Linked DNA regions of Homo sapiens: region 1 is linked to region 2. The links are contacts of gene promoters, found by promoter capture Hi-C in blood cells and fetal thymus (Javierre and others, 2016). All regions are on one chromosome and are shown on one strand. The core of a region is centred on a gene start or on the middle of the fragment in contact, and the rest is flanking DNA. Distances in the headings are between cores, read along the strand shown. Region 1 overlaps LOC105378305 (a long non-coding RNA gene). Region 2 holds the start of MBL2 (mannose binding lectin 2).

Region 1 (4,904 bases), core at 2,070-4,569, 170 kb before region 2:
TATCATGTGGTAGAGCAAGTAGTGGTGGACAATACAACTTGCGAGAGAGATATTTCAACGCCTTTTCACTCCTTTCCAATCTAGAGGTTGTTGATACTCAAAAGGGAGGTGGGAAGAGAGCAAGGTGAATTACGCATAGATGGAGAAAACTAATGAAGTAAAAAAAAAAACCCTAATATTTCTTAATGCTAATAACTTTACATACATCATTATATTTAATCCTATACTCTGTGACATCATATCTCGATTTATTATGTGGTTGCATCTGGAAGACATGAAAAATGAAACAGGTAAATTGAATGGCTTGTCTCAAGTTCCACAATTAGAAAAAAATCTGAGCAAGGAGAGAAAAACCCAGGTCCATTTGATTCAAGTCCATATTCTTTTTTTAACATGTGTGATTATGATTTAGATTACTAAGAGATTTATAAATTATATTTGTAATTATAATTATATTTTATTTTTTGAGAGTTATACAGTTATAAATCTTATATTTGTAATTATATTTTATATTTTTAAGAGTGTCTTACACAGCTATAAATCTTGCATAAGTAATAATGGGACTTGTTAGTCAGATCTTTTACAGAAATAGGTTAATATTTATACAACTTAAAAAATAAATCAAAATTAATTTGATTTTCAAATTATTTACTCCCTCTACTGGTGACTTTTTGAAGTGATATAAGTGCAATAGATACGTAGAATGTGACCTCCCATAAGTATCTTTCTGCGCACGTGTGTATGTGTGTGTGTGTGTGTGTGTGTGTGTGTGTGAGAGAGAGAGAGAGAGAGAGAGAGACGGAGAGAGAGAGAGAGAGAGACAGAGAAATACATATGACTTATAAATATTTCTGGTGAAATGAATTAGGATGTAAAAATTCATCTTCCAGTGGGTAACTTGATGCCCCAGAAACTTTTACAAAAGGTAAAAGTTTTCCTGTGGCTTACTATGTTCACAATATAAGAATAATGTGTTTCTTTGATCTGTGCTGAATATTCTTTAGCAAAATCATAAAGGCCTTTTGTGAATGTAATTCTGTTTCATGCTAATACAAACACATAGATACAAGTTTTATAATCTTCTCTTTCATATTTCAACCTATGAACTGGGAATATTAGTGTAAGTTGGCAAGATACTCTTTCCATTTCCAATTTTGTAAGCATTTTAAATACAAATTGTAGAGAGATCTTATTAACACTTGTAGACTTTGCTTTCAGCCATGACAGACAGACAAGGACGTAGAGAAGAGGGCTAAAGCAATAAATTCTTTTTTTTTTTTTGCCTTTTGCAAACATTAATAATGTAAAGTTATGTAGAGCATTTCAGTTTAGCACCCATGTGCTGAATGACAGAATGGTAGTAATCTGTGTAGAAACTGTGACTTTGACTTTCACCAGATTTTTCATTTTTCCTTAGAAAAGTTTCAATTCTATAGTGAATTCAATTGTGATGCCTTTTGGCTATTTTAGATTTTGGAAACAAGCAGAGATTAGAATTCTTCCCAGTGAATCATAGTAAATGTTATAACCAAATAACAAAGTAGGAAATACAAATAGTTGCTATGGATAATTCAGGAAGTAGTTTTGCAAGATTATTAAAAGCTTAGATTTGAGTCAGGTAAACATGATTTGAATCCTGGATGGCCATCCATTAACTATTTATTTTACTTTTGGCAAGTTAATTAATTATATAGGTTTTAAGATGTTGAAATAATCTGATATATCTAAGTCCAGACTAGTAATTGGTGGACAGTAGTGCCCAATTACTATTCTCAATTATTACTAAAGAGAAATATAAATTTCATTAGTAAAGTAAATAAAGTTGAATAAAAATAACCATGATGTATATGATTTCACAAATTACAAAGTTTTGATTTTTAAAAAATGATGCTGGCAAGGGTGTAATAGATAGGTATCCCTACATATGAGGTATATGGTTCTTCTAAAAAGCAACATAAGAAAGAAAAATATCTTTTTCTTTGGTCTAACTACTATACTTGTAGTAATCTTTAAAAGATTAAAACCCGAGGCAGCCAAATATTTATAAAAGAGGATATTTGCAAAATGATTTACATTACAGAAATGTTGGCCAGGTGCGGTGGCTCACACCTATAATCCCAGCACTTTGGGAGGCCGAGGTGGGTAGATCACGAGGTCAGGAGATCGAGACCATCCTGGCTAACATGGTGAAACCCCCATCTCTACTGAAAATGCAAAAAATTAGCTGGGTGTGGTGGCGGGCACCTGTAGTCCCAGCTACTCAGGAGGCTGAGGCAGGAGAATGGTGTGAACCCAGAAGGCAGAGCTTTCAGTGAGCCGAGAGCCCGCCACTGCACTCCAGCCTGGGTGACAGAGTGAGACTTCGTCTCAACAACAACAACAACAAAAAAAAAAGAAATGTTGGACACAGCCTAAATATCTAATAAGAGAAGCATGTTAAATAAAATGTTGATATAACAGTAAAATGAGATAGTACACCGACATTACAATGATATTTGTGAAGATACTTTTAATGTGGTAGTTATAAGTGCATAGATACTTTTAAGGTGGTAGTTATAAGTGCATTAAATAGTACTTGGTCTGTGTGGACCAGATGGGTTGGAACATGTATCCCAAGTCTAAGCCTATCAGAAAAAAATGTTCCCTTGTCTTAAAGATTGTTTTAGGGGCGTGCACCAGATCTAAACATCTCTCATTAGAGTGTACCATTGATATTTTTCTAGAAATATTGGAAAAAATATTTTCTTTTATAAGAGCTTTGGAAAACAATATCTCTCTTTGAATACAGTGGTAAGAGGGTGTAAAGTCTGGAACTGATTCTAGTGGTTTGAGTTCCATACCATAAGGGAAGCTAATATGAGGAAAAGCCAAGTAAAGAAAGTAAATCTGAGAGAAGTGAAAGTAAATAAAACCAGAGCCCAGACGAACTTTTGGTGTGTGCTTGAATCTACTTCTCCTGCTGGATTTTTCAGTTCTATGGCCAATAATATCCTGGATTTTTTTCAGCCAGTTTGAATTGGGTTTACTGACCCTTGAAATATAATAAATTCTAAATGATATACACATGCTATAATACTAAGTCAGGAAGAAATGTGACTTGAAATGATAATATGCAATGTGTTCTCAATTGTGGAAAATACTTATTCACAGAAAACTCTAAAAATGTATAAAAATATTCCTACTTAATGACCATTATTTATTTTTTATTTTTTTACCCATTTTTCAAGTTTCACATTGGGTACCCATTACTTTCATTATCTAAAATATAATATTTATTTTTTCGATCCATATCTTAGGAGGCAAACTGGGCAAGTCATTTGGAATAATACATGAAGATTTGTTTTCAGCTACCAAGGCAATAAAATGCTCCTCTTGAAATAGCAAAAAAAAAAAAAAAACCTTTTGTAATTCATAAAAATCTTGGGGAATATTTATCTCAGTGAGTTAATCTAGCCTGTCTTCCATGCAAACCAGGAATAGGGAAGTTGTTCAGTTGCAGAATGAAATTGATAAATTATCTGTGGTATAATAAGGTACTCTTCAATTTCTACATCTTTATGGAGGATTACATGCAGCTAAGACAGAAACTTGTTCCCTGCCCCTGGAAAAGATGGGCATTGTCTCTTTCCTGGGGTTACTCAGCTTTAAAAAGTTAATTTTAATTGAAATTTTCACATGGTTTTAATAACAGGAAAATAGCCACTATTATAAATTAATAATAGTGATAATGTCACTATCATCAACTGTTTTTAGATTCAGTAATGGTTCCTTTGTACAGTAAAATGCAATAGGCTGATTTCTGATTAATGCATGGTTATCAAACTCAAATATTATTTTAAAAGTGAGCAACAGTAACAATTCTTCAAAATAAAATTGTAATAAAGAGTGTTGCCACAATGTCAAAATCCCACTGCCATAAACACCCACTATTTATCCAAGTGTTTCTGTGGCTTTGGCTGTTACATTAATTTCAGTATTGGTAGGCACTATAGAATTGTTCTCTCATCAAAGCAATGAGTGGAAAAGTACAATTATATATTCTCCAAGTCCTTATTTTTAGCGGATGCCACTTTTCTATTAGATTTGGGAGTGATATACCAAAGTGATAGTATTTGAAATATTTTTCTTACTTCTATGGCAGTATAATATATACATAGATAACCAGAAAATCTGCCTCATCACAAATATAATGTTTTATATGATGATTTGCAGAACAAAACTCCACTTTTCTTGAAGTTATATGCCCTATGTTTGAAGGGTTCCATCAGACAGAACACTTTATTTGATTAGACCTTGAATGATTTACACATTTACACAGGATTAGTGAGACAGACATGCTCCTTTGAAATTGTGCACTCAGACATAGCTGGGCTCATCAGCCTGTGCATTCCAACTGGCCAAGTCCTGCGAGTCCTCACGCTAAGCCCATTCCTGGTTCTGAATCAAAGGTTAATATTTGGAGTAGCTTATCAATATGTATAATCAATAATGATATTATGACACATCAGCTATTACACATTCTGGTATCCTTCAAAACTTTTCTACAGAAAAACTAAATTTAAAATACTGAAAAACAAATAACAAAACAACATTAAAAAATAAAGGTTAGATTTTGAAACAATAGCAATAAATTTTTATTAAGTTCTTATTTATCTGTATATGATAGGAATTGTTTTTATGTCTATACCTTTCCCTCAGATTTTAAGAGATTTCATTTTAAAGAATTTCGTATTGAAAAATAGCCTTAAAGAAAGACGCTCAGTTGATTACAAAAGCATATAACCAAAAGTCACTAAAGAAAATCCCAAAGCAGCCTGCTCAAGTAAGTATAGTCCCTCAGTCTGTAATGAGTGTGTGAAGAGTGATTTAAGTCTGCTTTCTCGATGTGAGATAATGAGATGGAA
Region 2 (4,935 bases), core at 1-2,500:
TGCAGGGCAGGTCTTTTGGGCATCCTCACAGGTCACAGTTTCTGAGTAAGACGCTGCCACCATACTCAGGAGAAGGAGAGGGAGTGATGGAAACAGGGACATGGTCCTCACCTTGGTGTGAGAAAACTCAGGGAAGGTTAATCTCAGTTAATGAACACATATTTACCGAGCATGCCCTCTGTCCTACAATCTGGGTGCAGGCTATATAGAAATAGATGACCCATCCCTGGCCTCTAGCTGGGGATTTGGAAAAGTAAACATTCCTTGTGACACTGCGTGACTAGTACTTTAACAAAGGTAGGCACTATGATGAGCAGTGGGGATCCTAAGGAGGGGTTCATCTGTGCCTAGACACCTGGCGTTGCTGCTGGAAGACTATAAACATGCTTTCGGTGGCAGTGAGAACAAATGGGACCGTGCATTGCCAGCTGGCTTATGCCTGTTAGCTTAGGGAATGAGAATGAGTGGAAACCCAGGTGTCTGTAGGAGCTTCCTCTTTCTCTCCATGTCCTCTTCGGGTCCATCTGCCACCTGAATCCCATCTTTGTATCTGGGCAGCTGATTCCCCTCCAGGACCTGTTAACTATCATTTACTCATTGGCAGGCCCTGAGCTGAAAGCTGGTGATCCAAAGAGGAAGGTCTCAACCTCAGATCAACCTCAACCTTAGTCACCAACCCAGCCCAGAATTAACTGGAGTTTGCTTCCCCTTGGTGTTTTAGACAGGCTTGCCTGGGTAAGCATTTTCTCTGGAAATTTCTTACTACGTTGGCCCTGGCAGAGTGCTAAATACCTCTCTACTTTCTGGCAGGAATTCCCCATGTTCTGTGAGTCAAAAACCACTGGCAATTAGAAAACTTGCCTTGAATCCTCCTCCCATTTCTCAGTATTAACCTTTCATTTGTTCTTCAGAGCTTTCTTCCAGCTATTGCCCCCTAAGAAACCTCAGCAGCCTAGCCCCATAGGTCTAAGCCTCCAAGTTTCCCTTTGAAAACAAAGACAGTCTCCACTGCAGATGAACAGATAATGGAGGAAAGTCACAGATGCTCCAGCACAAGCAGAAAAAGAGACATCCTCAACCTGATTTCTGCTTTCCATCCCACTCCCCCCACCCCTAGAAAGCCTCCTCCATGCCTCCAGGGTCATGTCAGCTCCCCAAACCCTTGATCCGGAAACCCAGATTTATTCACCAGAAATGACTTACTGGTGTTTCTGCAGAGCAGGGACTCAGTGACAAGGACGCTGGCCCTCTAGCCTGGGGCTCTGGCAGATGCCTCAGAGTGAGGGAGGAGGCTGGGCTCAGCAATGTAGGGCCCAATCAACCTTGTGAACAAGGATATCCTGGGCCTGGCCTTCAACTCCAGATTAATAAACAGCTCTTCTCAGAACTATGAGAAATTTAGGAGCCTCCAATACAGTGCTCGGCAGCTGTCTGCTTTAATACAGCACAATTCCTCTTTCAATTGCCATCCATTTTGGCAAATCTCATTGCTGAACTACCACAGCTAGGTTCACCTAGTTAGTCCTGTTGACATCCTTGTTTCCAACAGAAAAACAAAGATACTCACAAATGCATACACATGCTCATGCACACCAACTATACACACAGACACGTGCATGCACGCACACACCCATCCATGAAACCACATAGACCTCTTGCTGCCATTAATGCATTAAGGCCATTCCTGCCTCAGACTCTTCATTTGATGTCTCCATGCCTGGACCCCTTACGGGCATCGCCAGCTAGCTCTTTCTCTTCTATTCAAATATTCCAATTTCAGAGAAATCAGTACCTTGATCACTTATTCTAAAATAGTCCTACCTAGCAGTCTCTATCCTCTTAGCCTGAATTATTTTCTCTCATGTTACTTACACTTTATGATATTATAGTCATTGACTTTACTTTTCCAGTTTTTCATTGTGGTAAAATAGACATAAAATTTACCATTTTGACCATTATTATTAAGCACACAACTCAGTAGCATTAAGTACATTCACACGGTTGTGCTATCATCACCACATCATGGGATGATTTTCATCATCCCAAACTGAAACTCTCAACTCATTAAACTAGAATTCTCCATTTACCCCTACCCACAGCCACTGGTAACTTCTGTTTTACTTTCTGTCTCTCTGAATTCATCTATCCTAGGTACCTCATATATGTGAAATCATACAATAGCCCCCTTGTATCTGGCTTATTTCACTTAGCACAATGTCTTCAAATTTCATCCTCATAACAAGAATTGTAAACTGTGTTAAAGACTTTGGGTTTCCTTCCAGGGGGCACTAGAGGGACTGCAGTAGTGGAGAGGTGATCACATTTGAATTTTGCAAGGCTTGTTCTGGCTATGATGTTGAGGGGAACAGGACTGGAGAAAAGCAGATCTAAAAGGAAGTGCTTGCCATGATCTAAGCAGCAGAAGACAGTGGCCTGGGTCAGGGTAATGGCAGCTAGATTAAGAAGGTAGGCACACTTGAGAAACAGGAGGTATTGATTGCACTTGAGAATTAGCTAGAATAGTGAGTGATAATAAGAAGTTTTCATGGGCACACACATTTATGACTTGACTATCTAGGAGCCACTCAACTGAGATAAGAAGCAAAAGAACAGCACTTGGCACTATAAGATCATGGGTATCGTGTGTGTTAATGGCTTGAACCATCTTGCTGTGGTTAATGGGGACAATCTAGAAGGGATGGAAGAATACTTTTACGAACATAGTTCATTTGATTCTCAACTACATTACTGATATGGCTTTCAGAAAAATGCCATGTAGCTTGGGGTGTTGGGGAGCCCATCCTGAGAAGTTCAGAGGCTGCGGGGCCATGTGGTGGGGGTACTATGGAGGCCTCCAAACACCAAAAGAAATGTGAGTAAGATGCATTTCCAGGTCCCTTCCAATTGAAGTCTTCTTGGCTTGTGGAGGGACTGGCTTCCTTACTTCCTGCTGACCTGTCTGCTGTGCCTGGAAAAATGTCCAGGATGGTACAGAGCCACATGCCTAAAGCCATCAGTGGATATCAGGAGATCCAGGGCCTAAAGAAGACAGGGCCTGAGAAGACTTGTTTCCCTTCTTATTCTTTAGCAGCCAGAGCTTCCCCCTGCTCCTGCTCCAGTGGCAGAAGGTGAGGTGAGGTAGTTGACTCCAGGTCACTGGCGGTGCTGGCTTTAATCACAGTGCTTGCTTTCATTGTTTACCTAGTCCAGAGGTCAGGAAACTGCTCTCCAGACCCTGAAATTTCCTAGAACTGGGTTCAGAGGGTGTGGGTATCTGGGGGAAAGTCAATCTAGCAATTGATCCGGAGATTGGAGTGTCACCCAGTTACATCCTGCTCTCCAGAAGGCCTTTCCCAAAAGGAGAGGCCACTCTCCACATGCCGCAGCCTGAATGTCTCTCTCCACACGAATGCCCACTCTGCACTCCACCCCATAGATAAGGCCACTGTGTGCATTTGTTCTGGACTTTAAAACCCTTCCCAGCCAGGCGTGGTGGCTCACTCCTGTAATCCCAGCACCTTGGGAGGCCGAGGCGGGCGGATCATGAGGTCAGGAGATTGAGACCATCCTGGCTAACACAGTGAAACCCCATCTCTACTAAAAAATACAAAAAAAAAAAAAACAACAAACTAGCCGGGCGTGGTGGCGGGTGCCTGTAATCCCAGCTACCCAGGAGGCTGAGGCAGGAGAATGGAGTGAGCCCGGGAGGCGGAGCTTGCAGTGAGCTGAGATTGCACCACTGCGCTCCAGCCTGGGCGACAGAGCCTCTCCGTCTAAAAAAAAAAAAAACTTTCCACTTTCCTAACACTGCTTCCATTCTGGCAGCGCCACAACAAATCCACCTCACCCCAAGAGGCTGCAGAGAAAACTGCCTCTCTGACCTGCAGGAGGACTGCCTGGTGCCCTACATCCCCTTTTTTGTAGACTAGGGTGAAATCCCAGCTCTCCCACTTCCCAACAGTGTGACCTTATTCAAGTTCCACTGCCTTCATGTCCTCAGTTTCCTCGTCTGGGAAAGAGGGCACCGCTGCCTTGGCTGTGGAGTGGTGTGTCCTTAACTGGTCCACATTCAGAGTGCATGGCACGTGGCTCACCATGACAGCCTGCTTAAGAAAGGCCTTCATTCCCTCCAGGGTGACTGTTCAAGAGTCTTCTCAGCTTGGGAAGCAGTGTTCTTGGGTGGCTCCATGTGAGAGGCATGGTTTGAGATTGGAAACCAGAAGGCTTGGTTTTGTCTCATGAATATGAGCTTAGATAGACCCCATATTCTGGCCGAACCTCAGTTTTACATCTTTCAAATCAGATTTTGAACCTCATTCCCTTTTCCACAGAGCTGCTGTGAGTAGGACAATAGCAATGAGAATGTTATTGCTCTCCAAGTGAGGACCATCAGGAATATGCTTATAGTCAGATAAAATGGATTTATTATTTTTAGTTTCTTTTAACTGTTTGTTCCAACAGGGATATTGAGCACAATGGTGTACCCTAGGATTTCTCAGTAACAGGGTGTCGGGAGGGGATTTCTATAAGACTTGTTTTGTTTTAGTTGGTTTTGGGGGAAGGGGTTTAAGAAGCAGGAGTCTGTTCTGGATAGGGTGCTGTCCGTAAGCTGGGCAATTCTGTGATTGTGCATCTTAACTTTTATTTAGGAGATAAGTAGAACAGAGCAAGGCGAAGCTGTATTTTGTAAAAGAGTGGCAGATGTTTATATTAAGCAGGAGAGGGGCATGTTTTTCGTTTTTGTGGTTCACAGAGCAACCTTTTCTGTCTATATGAAGACATGATTTTGGAATGATTTGGGATCTCACAACAGAGTAATATTGTTGTACACCGGTATTCTGTGGAAGTGTTTAGGGTCAGCAGGGAATACCATGGTCTGGCCATGAGAGACAGGCTGTGAGAGACAGCTGACAGCGGTAGGCTGCTTTCTTGTTG

Evidence for each region. The method cuts DNA at HindIII sites, captures the fragments that hold promoters and counts their contacts. A CHiCAGO score of 5 or more calls a contact.
Region 1: a contact is called between a fragment that was not itself captured here and the fragment with the promoter of MBL2 in region 2, in 2 of 17 cell types (fetal thymus and megakaryocytes). The highest score is 6.0, in fetal thymus.

The regions. Positions count from the first base shown.
Region 1 is chr10:52,594,769-52,599,672 of GRCh38, forward strand. All of the region lies in intron 1 of LOC105378305 (a long non-coding RNA gene), which reads right to left. Among named protein-coding and RNA genes, the nearest start is that of LNCAROD, 130 kb to the left of the region's middle. The HindIII fragment of the contact is 3,439 bases long and covers 1,601-4,904 here.
Region 2 is chr10:52,771,534-52,776,468 of GRCh38, forward strand. MBL2 (mannose binding lectin 2) reads right to left here and starts at 1,251. Exons shown (of 5, transcript NM_001378373.1): 1 at 1,204-1,251; 2 at 1-111. The coding sequence starts at 102. The HindIII fragment of the contact is 7,250 bases long and covers 1-4,935 here.